Linked DNA regions of Homo sapiens: all the other regions are linked to region 1. Evidence: promoter capture Hi-C in 16 types of primary human blood cells and fetal thymus (Javierre and others, 2016). All regions are on one chromosome and are shown on one strand. The core of a region is centred on a gene start or on the middle of the fragment in contact, and the rest is flanking DNA. Distances in the headings are between cores, read along the strand shown. Region 1 holds the start of PSPN (persephin). Region 2 holds the start of XAB2 (XPA binding protein 2). Region 3 holds the start of ARHGEF18-AS1 (ARHGEF18 antisense RNA 1).

Region 1 (3,464 bases), core at 590-3,089:
GAGTGCAGTGGTGCAATCTTGGCTCACTGCAGCCTCTGCCTCCTGGGTTCCAAGCGATTCTCCTGCCTCAGCCTCCCGAGTAGCTGGGACTACACCCAGCTAATTTTTTAATAGAGACGGAGTTTCACCATGTTGACCAGGCTGGTCTTGAACTGACCTCAGGTGATCTGCCCACCTCGGCCTCCCAAAGTGCTGGGATTACAGGCGTGAGCCACTGTGCCTCGCCTAATTTTTGTATTTTCGTTAGAGACAGGGATTCACCATGTTGGCCTGGCTGGTCTCAAACTCCCGACCTCAAGTGATCCTCCCACCTCACCCTCCCAAAGTGCTGGGATTATAGGCATGAGCCACTGGGCCCCGCCAGGCTTTTTTGAGACAGTATCGCTCTGTCGCCCAGGTTTGAGTGCAATGGCACAATCTCAGCTCACTGCAACCTCCACCTCTCAGGTTCAAGCAATTCTCCTGCCTCAGCCTCCCGAGTAGCTGGGATTACAGGCGCCCACCACCATGCCCAGCTAATTTTTGTATTTTTAATAGAGATGGATTTCACCATGTTGGTCAAGCTGGTCTCAAACTCCTGACCTCAGGTAATCCACCCGCCTCAGCCTCCCGAGGCATGAGCCACCACGCCAAGCCCAGGCTTTTCTTTCCATCGGAAAATTATCATCTCAATAAGCACTTCAGTAAGAAAAACCACAACATAATCATCGAAGCAATCCCTCACGGATGGAGTTGAGGCCACTTCCAGACTTTCCTAATATGAAGAAGGCATCAGATGTCCCTGTGCTGGCTGTTTCACTTGCCTGTGTGGGAGGAACCCCGCAAACAGGGCTCCTGGGGCAGAGGGTGTAATTTACAATTCCCCAGTAGCAGCTGCTCATCCAAAGAGCTGCTAGCAATTTACACCCCCACCAACAGCACAGGGTGCACCTGGGTCACACGGGTTGTGTGTGAGGGTTTTCTGATTTTCCCCAATCTTGTGGGTGCTTAGAGTCAAGCACCCCTTCGGACAATCACAAGCTGTTTGCTTGTTTTTGCATTCGAAGCTACGGGCACTGCCTTACACTCTAAGTGCCCATCTCTTTCCTCACCAAGCCGAGTAGGAGGGGTTCTGAGGAGCTCCCCTGTACCGGTGAGGGGACTGGGCTCACACGGGGCTGGGTATGGAAGCCTCGAGAGCCCTTATCTGTCTGCATCGTGCTAGACGTTACCATGACCTGGACAGCCTCCATCGCCCCGGGGGCTCTGACATGCTCAGATCCCAGGATGGGGCTGCAGTTATAGGGGTCTCAGGTTGGCCTTCCCGAGACAGGCGTCCCTGTCCCCTTGTGTCCCCACCCTTGGCTGTCCCCAGGCCTCTCCCTTTTCCTGTTTTGATGCTGGCTCAGCCAGGCCCGGAGACAGGGGCATGATGTCCTAATCCTCCAGGCGGGAGCCACCATGGAGGGTTCCCGTGGACTCAGTCCCCTGCCAAGCCACCTTTCCCAGCACTCACATATGCTCCACCTGGCACATGATACACGTGGGGGCTCCTGAGCCCCAGCACCCTGACTTAGTGGGGAGGGACCCCACCGGGGTCCCATGAAGCCCCCTGACTTCCACTCCAGGCAGCAGGTCGGGGGAACACCAGTTGCCTGCCCTGGCCGCCAGCACAGCACTCGTAAATCAGGGGGTGTCTGGGGCGTCGGAAATGGCTGTGTGGAATGTCGGGGTGGGGTAGGCTGGGGGTGAGCCCTTAACTCTTAGAAGGGTGGGGTGTGGGGCAGAAGGAGCAGATGCCTGGATTCGAGGGTGCAGGAGATGGGCTGGTGCAGACGTGGGGCCTCCTGGCTGCAGGGGCCGGCAGTGAAGAGGTTAGCTCCCAGCCCAGGCAGGGCATAAATTTGGGGCACAGCTCCCACTCTCAGGACCTGCCCGTCACAATGGCCGTAGGGAAGTTCCTGCTGGGCTCCCTGCTGCTCCTGTCCCTGCAGCTGGGACAGGGCTGGGGCCCCGATGCCCGTGGGGTTCCCGTGGCCGATGGAGAGTTCTCGTCTGAACAGGTGGCAAAGGCTGGAGGGACCTGGCTGGGTAAGGACTTCCAGGGACCCTCTGTGACTTCCCAACTTTCCCCAGCCCTGACCCTGCTCACTGTCAGCGCCCTTCCCTCCCACAGGCACCCACCGCCCCCTTGCCCGCCTGCGCCGAGCCCTGTCTGGTCCATGCCAGCTGTGGAGCCTGACCCTGTCCGTGGCAGAGCTAGGCCTGGGCTACGCCTCAGAGGAGAAGGTCATCTTCCGCTACTGCGCCGGCAGCTGCCCCCGTGGTGCCCGCACCCAGCATGGCCTGGCGCTGGCCCGGCTGCAGGGCCAGGGCCGAGCCCACGGCGGGCCCTGCTGCCGGCCCACTCGCTACACCGACGTGGCCTTCCTCGATGACCGCCACCGCTGGCAGCGGCTGCCCCAGCTCTCGGCGGCTGCCTGCGGCTGTGGTGGCTGAGGGTGCCCGGCCTGGCACCCAGAAGCTGCAGTGCTGGGGGAGCTCGGCTGACTTATTTATTGGAGACCTGGATGCAGAGACAACGAGGAGGGGAGTGGGCTGGGGCGACCAGCAGTGAGTGCAATAAAGGACACCACTCTCCCGGCCTTGTGACTTTGACCATGTGTCCAGCCAGCCACACCTGGAGCTCCCTATGGGCCAGTGCCATCCTGGGTTCCCCTGCAAATCCCGGCCCCAGCAAGCAGCCACTGCAATGTCCCAGTTAGGCTGTCCATTCCCCAACTTTATTCACAAATCTGGTGTCTGTAGAAAGCTGGGGGTCAGCAGGCTGGGGGCGGCTGTCCAGACTCCCCTGGCCCCATGCCCTCAGGGAGGGAGCGGCAGATCACGGAGATGCGCCGGCCCCGGGGAATCCGGCGTTCCCCAAAGAAGGACTCTTCATCCCGAAGGATCTCATGGGAGAAGTCATAACGGGCTGAGCCCCTGCAGGAAGAAACAGGCTGTGACTGGGTGCAAGGAGGGCAGCCCCTGCTCCAGGCAGACCTGGATTCCAGCCTCCTGGATTCCAGCCCCCTGCTGCCTCCCACACAGACCCTGGGGTAAAGGCGTCTTCGGGGAGGGCTGGATTGAGGGAAAGTACCCAGGGCACAGGGTGGGCGGATGGCACATTCTTGGAGGGGTGGGTGCTGCCTGGATGGAGGTACCTAAGGATGTAGAGGGAGCCCGGCTCCAGCAAGAGTTCCAGCCACTCCCCCGGCTCCTGGGTGTGCACCAGCCGCATAACGCTGGGAGACAGGAGAGACAGGCCGGCGATGGTGGCCCCGCAGAACTGCAAAAGAGGCGTGGGGATGGGTCAGGATCTAACCGGGCCTGCCTACCCCCTGGCTGGGAGTGCCAAGGCACCGTCCTCTGCCCACCTTGATGCTGTCCACGTGGGGCTTGATGTAGCCGCGGGCTTCCAGGTCCAGCACGTGCACGGAGGAGAG
Region 2 (3,464 bases), core at 1-2,500, 1.3 Mb before region 1:
GAGCCAAAGGCCTCCAGAGCCCCACATCAGGGCAGGGTCGGCTTATGGGAGGCAGACATTAGTCCCCAGCAGACTGCTGCCCCACACCCTCTCCCACCCCTGGAATGAACCCTCAAACACTCCTCTTATGCCCACCTTGCGCTGTATGACATCGTCCTCAAACCACTCGGCCTGATTGGAAACCCAGAACATAGCCACAGGGAAAGTGAGGTAGATTATCATCTGGAATGGCAGAGGGTGGGTGAGGTGAGCTCCCCCCAAGCAATGTGCAGAGGCTCCTCAGAGCCTGGGGGACCCATCCTACTGCAGAGTCCAGAAGCGCCTCGTTACGGCCGACCCAAGAATCCCAGAACTCCCACCAAGGGTACAGAAACCTCGCACCCTAAAACCTAACTCCTATAATCCAGGAGGCCTCATTCCTGAAAGTTCCCTCTGAGCTGGAGTCTTCCTCTCAAACACAGACAGACACACAGACGCCCCAGCTACAATCAAAAGCATCTCCTCGAGACCTCATTACCCATCCCCACTTAAGATCCCGGGAGCACCCCCAAACCCAGGAGGCGTCACTCTTCAACTCCACTTCTCGAAGTCTAGGAATCTCCCTGTCATAGACACCCACCCACCACGAGCCCGAGAGCTCCCCCAGGATCTTAAGTCTTCCTTCTTTAGAGCCCCCTTCTCAGCTCACCCCTCTCTGAGGTCCTTCCTCGGACCAGCCCTCTCACAGCCCCCAAACCCAGAAGCCCAAATCCGAGAACCCCCCCAGCCCAGCGTCCCCTCTCCTGGATTTCCAACCAGAAAGGTTCCTCTCAAATCTTAAGAGCTTTCTCCTTGGAGCTCCCTCTTCCTTTGAAGTCCCCCCATTTCCAACCTCATCTTCAGATCCAGGAAGATCCCCTGCCCAGCCTCCCAACCCACTCCTGTGTCCACTGACCCGAAATATCTCCAGCTTCACCCCCATCTCGTTTCTCCCGGTCAACAAAGCCAGTTCCGCCCAAAGCCGACCCTCCAGCAAGACAGAAGCTCACTGGTGTTTTGCACGCTCCATTGCTGAAGCTGATTGGCCAATGTGTATCCTGATGGCGCATCTTCTGGCGCCTCTATTCTGCTTCCGGTCGCTGGCGTCGTCGAAAAGAAGTCAATAACGTGGGCCTGTCCGTCAAAAATGATTTAACCAATAGAAAACGGGTCTGGCTCGGAGGGGCGGGCCGTCAGTGGTAGACGTCATAAGCGCGCGACTCTCTCCTGTACCTGGGCATCCAGAAAAATGGTGGTGATGGCGCGACTCTCGCGGCCCGAGCGGCCGGACCTTGTCTTCGTGAGTCCACAGAGGAGCCGGGGGTGGCCTGCGTTGGGGCATTGGGACCTGGACGCCGCAGGGGATCGAGGCTGGGTCGGCAAGGAGATTTAGGCCGAAACTGCCAGGCCAAGGTCTGGGAACCCTAATGGGCCAGAGACCGGATCGTCATGTCCGCACCGAACTGTCCAGGAGTAAAAATATGGTGTTGTATCTTCGGGTCTGAGTAGAAAACCACTGTCGAAGGGAAGCGTCTAGCCTCCCGAACCAGGGGCGGAAATGGGGGCGTGCAGGGAATGGGAGAGGAGGAAGATCGCATAACTGAACCTTGAGAGGTGAAGATCGGTGTCTGAAGTAAAGGCTTGCTTACGAGGCCAGGGTTCTGGTTTCTGGGATGAAGGCTTGGTTTTCTGGATAGCGGTCTCTAGGCCTGGACTGCAGCATGACAGTTTCTGGGGTGGTGGCCAGGCTAGAAGAACCCTGGTGATGTGGAGCTTGTCAGGCGATGGCCAGTGAAATACTTACTCTCTGGAGTAGAGGCGTGACATCTTCACCAGATTCTTGGTGTGCAGAGTTAAAGGCTTGGCTTCTGGTGTATAACTCCTCCTGTGAGATAAAGGCCTAGCTTTTAATTTCTGGGGCAGAGTTGAGCTAGACGCTGGCTAGTGGGATCCTGGGGGCGGGGCTAGTGGCTTGGAATCTGGACCTGAGAGCCCTGGTGGCTGGGGTAAAGATCTGGTCATCTGGGCCTGGGGTGGAGATGGGTCAGATGGTGACAGTGGGAGTCTGAGGGGCCAAAGGCCTGGTGTCTGGGAAGAGGCACGTTTTGAAGAAGTGGGGTCTGGTGTCCAGGACTGGCATCTGGGCCAGGGCCTTGGTATCTAAGGAGTCTGACCATCTGGGGCAGAAAGCGAGTGGTGATGCGGACTCATTCCTGGCCCAGAGCCCTAATGACTGAGAAGTCTGATGATTTGGGTTCGATTTTGGGTAGTTGAATTCTGAGGGGTAAAGGTCTGGGCCACTGTCTTGGTGTCGGGCATCTGGTTTGGTGCCTGGGCATCTGGTGACCTGACTTCCTTGGTGGGTGGTGGGATCTAGGTAAAAGTCCGGAGTTTGGACCTGAGCCCCAGCAGTGGGATGGTGCTGCACACAGGCTCTGAGGGTAGGCCTCTCTTCTTCCCATTCCCTGGCCCTGGCAGGAGGAAGAGGACCTCCCCTATGAGGAGGAAATCATGCGGAACCAATTCTCTGTCAAATGCTGGCTTCGCTACATCGAGTTCAAACAGGGCGCCCCGAAGCCCAGGCTCAATCAGCTATACGAGCGGGCACTCAAGCTGCTGCCCTGCAGGTGGGAATGGCTCCAGCTGCCCTGCCCACCAGCCCCCACCCCACCTGGTCCAGTTATAACAAAACTGCCAAGTGGGTCCCGGGTCCCGGGTGATTGCTTCGTGTTTCATCACTGACCTGTACATCCCTTGATGGGTCAGCACACCTTCTCTGATGTCCCAGTCTGTCCCTGTCATTGCTGAGACATGTCACCCCTCCCACACCCCTTCTTCCCACATTTGCCAACTGGGGCAGGGCAAATGGTTCTGGGGGTGTCCATAAAGCTGACCGATCAGCATCTGTCCCCTCCTATTCCCCAGCTACAAACTCTGGTACCGATACCTGAAGGCGCGTCGGGCACAGGTGAAGCATCGCTGTGTGACCGACCCTGCCTATGAAGATGTCAACAACTGTCATGAGAGGGCCTTTGTGTTCATGCACAAGGTTTGGGGCTCGGCGAGGGGATGAATCGGGAAGTGGAGCTCAGTCCATGGTGGTGGGTGGGGCGGGGACAGGGGCTGGGCTCAGCATGTTAGGGATGGGGGCTTGGATTCCTGTTGCTTCTTTGCATGGGAAGTTGGGCTGGACTCAGTCCTGGAGCTGGGGGTTTCTGGGTCCCGCCGCATTTATGTGGTGGCCCCAGGTGTGGCTCAGCCACAGGACATCGAGTGTCTGTGGCCAGGCCATGGAGTCCGTGGCTTAGCCCCAGCCGCCTCTCCCCACACCCCCAGATGCCTCGTCTGTGGCTAGATTACTGCCAGTTCCTCATGGACCAGGGGCGCGTCACACACACCCGCCGCACCTTCGACCGTGCCCTCCGGGCACTGCCCATCACGCAGCA
Region 3 (3,464 bases), core at 315-2,814, 1.0 Mb before region 1:
CTGCCTCAGCCTCCAGAGTAGCTGGAACTACAGGCGCCCGCTACCATGCCCGGCTAATTTTTGTATTTTAGTAGAGATGGGGTTTCACCATGTTGGCCAGGATGGTCTCGATCTCCTGACCTCGTGATCCACCCACCTTGGCCTCCCAAAGTGCTGGGATTACAGGCTTGAGCCACCGCGCCCAGCCTCTCCTGACACCTCTTACAGCTGGAGGATTAATCATTCACTCAGACACCTGCAAAACTCATCCCTTGGCCACTGGGCTGTCTATACTGTCCTGAACTCTCTCTCTGGTCAATGGGAAGAGAATGGGGCCCTTCAAAGCTACTGGCTGGAGCTTCATCTCCGCGAAAACAAGGCAAAGGGGAAAAGGTGTGTTGGCCGCTTCGCTTCCGTGGTAAAACTTTAAGAATGTTTTTTAATCCTGTGGTCCAGGCTTTAATCTCAACAGAGCAAGAGATAAGGGGCAGATAGCCACAGCAAAACACTCAAGTGCTAGTAGAATTAACGCAGGAAAAGAAAACCAAATACTGCACTTTCCCACTTGTAAGTGGAGCTAAACCTTGGGTACTCATGGACACCAAGAAGACAACAGAAACTGGGCTCTACTAGAGCGGGAAGGGAAGGAGGAGGTCAAGGGTTGAAACTATCTATTGAGTACTATGCTCAGTACCTGGGTGACGAGATCAGTCACACCCCAAACCTCAGCATCACGCAATATATCCAGGTAACAAACCTGTACATGTACCCCCTCAATCTCAAATAAAAGTTGAAATTTAAAAACGTAAAACAAAACGAAACATGTAAGGACCAGGGGAAAGCTTCTCGTTCCCGTCCGCAATGAAAGCACCAACTGAGTTCTTATACAAGAAACTAAAACCCATGGCACAGATAGTTCTCACGGTTTTGCACCCAAACGCTCCCTGCCAGGGAGGGCTGTCTGCTCCGGGGTGTGAGGGTTCTCCCGGGAGGCCTGAAATACGACGGTGCTGGGTATTGTGGTGGGTTCCATTCCATCCCTGGTCCTGCCCCGGGCGCTCCTGAACGAGGAGCAGAGGCTGGGGCCCAAGTGACCCCTCCTCTCCTCTCCTGGAGGAGAGTAAGCCGTAGCACCCCAGGACTGGCTGGGGCTCGGACGGAGCGGGCGGGCATCGTCTGCACCTCTGCACCCTGCAATCGCCGCCTAGAGCCTCCATGCATTGAAGGAGCAGCCTGCACCCCAGCACCCGTTCGCCTGCCTGGAGAAGTCCCCCAGGAGCCGGCGGGAGGCCCGAGGCAGCCCCGGGGGTCCCGCGCCCCAGGCCACCCCCTGAAGAGACCGAGGGCCCCCTCCTGAGCCCCGTTTTCCTCGGGACCGCCCCGCCGCCGTCCTCACCTCGGCCCGATCGCCCGCAGGCCGCTCTCCGCCAGCTCCTCTGCCACTCTCGCAGCCGCCTCCGATGCCTCCGTCCGGCCCCCCCAGATCCACAGTAGCTAGCAGCTGGGAGCCGGAAGCGGGAAGCCGCGCGAGGAGAGCAGCGCATGCGCGATCCCGCCTCGGAGGCGGGGCAGAGGGCGTGACCCGGAAGGAGGCGTGCCCTCGAGGGCGGGGCGCTCCCGGGGACCTGGGGCTGCTGCTCCCCGAGCCGTGGTGAGGGGGCGTCGGCTCGGCCTTGAGAGGGGCGCGGGCACCGAAGTGGGAGGGTGCTCGCGGCGAGGGTGAGGGCGACTTTTGAGGGGCGGGTCAGCGGGGTTGGGGGGCTTTTTGAAGGAGAGCAATGCGAGCCTGGCTGTCAGTAGGGCCGGGGGCTCTGAGGGGACAGCTGGGTTGCGGGGATCCAGAGGGAGAGCAGCAGGGTTAGGTGGGCGTTTTGTGGGGTTAACGGAAGCCTGGGTGATTAGCGCGGCTGGGGAGGGAGTCCTGAGGAGGACAGCGGTTTGGAGAATCTCAAGGGGGGTACAGCACAGTTAGGGGGACCCTGAGGGAGGACAGCGGGGTTGGGGGACCCCAAGGGAGGACAGCGGGGTTGGGGGGACCCCGAGGGAGGACAGCGGAGTTGGGGGACCCCGAGGGAGGATAGCGGGGTTAAGGGGACCCCAAGGGAGGACAGTGGAGCTGGGGGTGTTTTGGAAGAATCAACGGATGCCTGGAGGGGTTGTCAGTGGGCTCCTACGGGCTCGTTAGGATTGGAAGTACCTAAGGGGGGCACTCCCAGTGGTGGGGAGTCCTAGCGGGGAGAGTCCAAGAAATGGAGAGGGCAGGGTCTGTCACCTGAGAAAAAAGAAGCAGCATCAGGGAGTGGTGGGGGGATCACTTCATCCCAGGAGTTCAGGACCACCAGTCTGGGCAACATAGCAAGACCCCATCTCTACAAAACATTTTTTAAAATGAGCAGGGCATGGAGGCGCCTGCCTGTGGTCCCAACTCCTCCAGAGGCTGAGGTGGGAGGATGACTTGAGCCTGGGAGGTCCAGGCTGCGGTGAGCTATGATCATGCCTCCAGAGGCTGAGGTGGGAGGATGACTTGAGCCTGGGAGGTCCAGGCTGCAGTGAGCTATAATCATGCCACTGCACTCCAGCCTGGACAACAGAGCAAGACTCTGTCTCAAAATAACAACAACAAAAAAAGAGGCAGCATAGACTTCAGAAAGGTGGGTCTGGGAAAAATGAATCATATACCTCTCCAGTGGTCTCAGACACCCCAACATAGATACCATCAGATCCCCTAAACACAGGCACCCAGGCAGGTGCCATCAGATACCCAAAACAGGCTTCCAGGTAACCCCCAAATATGTCAGACACTCCACATAGGTCCAGCAGATACCCCCAAACACATACTAGATAACCCCAATACAGATGCTGTCAGATACCCTCAAACAGGTGCTCAGAGTCTGAAACACATACCATACCCTCCCCTATCCACTTCCACACAGGTGCTATTTGGCAGATGTGGATAGGCCAGATGCTTCCCCCAGCACCAGCAACCTCTCAATTGCCATCAGACACCCCAGTCTTGAGGTTGCCTGTCTAATCCAAGTCCTGCCACAGGGGAGGCAGTTGAACAGTAACCAGGAGTCGAGCAGAACAGCTCTCACCAAGGTTGGCTGGTCAGCCAGGCCTAGAAGATCTCCCCATGGCCAGGCAAGACGGCTCATGCCTGTAATCCTAACACTTTGGGAGTCTGAGGAGGGAGGATCACTTGAGTCCAGGAGCTTTGAGATCAGCCTGGGAAACCTCGCATGACCCAGTCTCTATTTTAGAAAAAAAGATTTCCCCAAACCCAATCACTTCAAAACATGCACAATATGTTGTTGAGAGTCCCCAGTTCAGAAGCTGGAGGGTTGCGTCCCCAGGTGGACTAGCCTTCAGTTCAAGTCCAACCTTCATGGTCCAGAGGAAGGGAGCATGTTCAGGGAATTGGATGTCCCAGAAATGCAAGACGTAATTCACCAGGCACCCTACTGCAGCTGAGGTCAGAAACTCTA

What was found. The method cuts DNA at HindIII sites, captures the fragments that hold promoters and counts their contacts. A CHiCAGO score of 5 or more calls a contact.
Region 2: a contact is called between the fragment with the promoter of XAB2 here and the fragment with the promoter of PSPN in region 1, in 1 of 17 cell types (non-activated CD4 T cells). The highest score is 5.3, in non-activated CD4 T cells.
Region 3: a contact is called between the fragment with the promoter of ARHGEF18-AS1 here and the fragment with the promoter of PSPN in region 1, in 2 of 17 cell types (fetal thymus and total CD4 T cells). The highest score is 9.3, in fetal thymus.

What each region holds. Positions count from the first base shown.
Region 1 is chr19:6,374,308-6,377,771 of GRCh38, reverse strand. PSPN (persephin) reads left to right here and starts at 1,839. Exons shown (of 2, transcript NM_004158.5): 1 at 1,839-2,070; 2 at 2,156-2,624. The coding sequence starts at 1,923. The coding sequence ends at 2,478. ALKBH7 (alkB homolog 7) reads right to left here. Exons shown (of 4, transcript NM_032306.4): 2 at 3,396-3,464; 3 at 3,183-3,307; 4 at 2,522-2,961. The coding sequence ends at 2,799. The HindIII fragment of the contact is 10,611 bases long and covers 1-3,464 here.
Region 2 is chr19:7,627,331-7,630,794 of GRCh38, reverse strand. It overlaps XAB2 (XPA binding protein 2), which reads left to right and starts at 1,250. Exons shown (of 19, transcript NM_020196.3): 1 at 1,250-1,318; 2 at 2,497-2,645; 3 at 2,944-3,067; 4 at 3,355-3,464. The coding sequence starts at 1,268. PET100 (PET100 cytochrome c oxidase chaperone) reads right to left here and starts at 1,002. Exons shown (of 4, transcript NM_001171155.2): 1 at 935-1,002; 2 at 136-222. The coding sequence starts at 961. It also overlaps a transcript of STXBP2 not described here. RefSeq lists enhancers at 909-958, 1,219-1,338. The HindIII fragment of the contact is 14,766 bases long and covers 1-3,464 here.
Region 3 is chr19:7,393,159-7,396,622 of GRCh38, reverse strand. ARHGEF18-AS1 (ARHGEF18 antisense RNA 1) reads left to right here and starts at 1,564. Exons shown (of 2, transcript NR_186326.1): 1 at 1,564-1,630. The region is part of intron 10 of ARHGEF18 (Rho/Rac guanine nucleotide exchange factor 18); the gene reads right to left. RefSeq lists an enhancer at 697-876 and silencers at 1,087-1,656, 1,365-1,805. The HindIII fragment of the contact is 12,223 bases long and covers 824-3,464 here.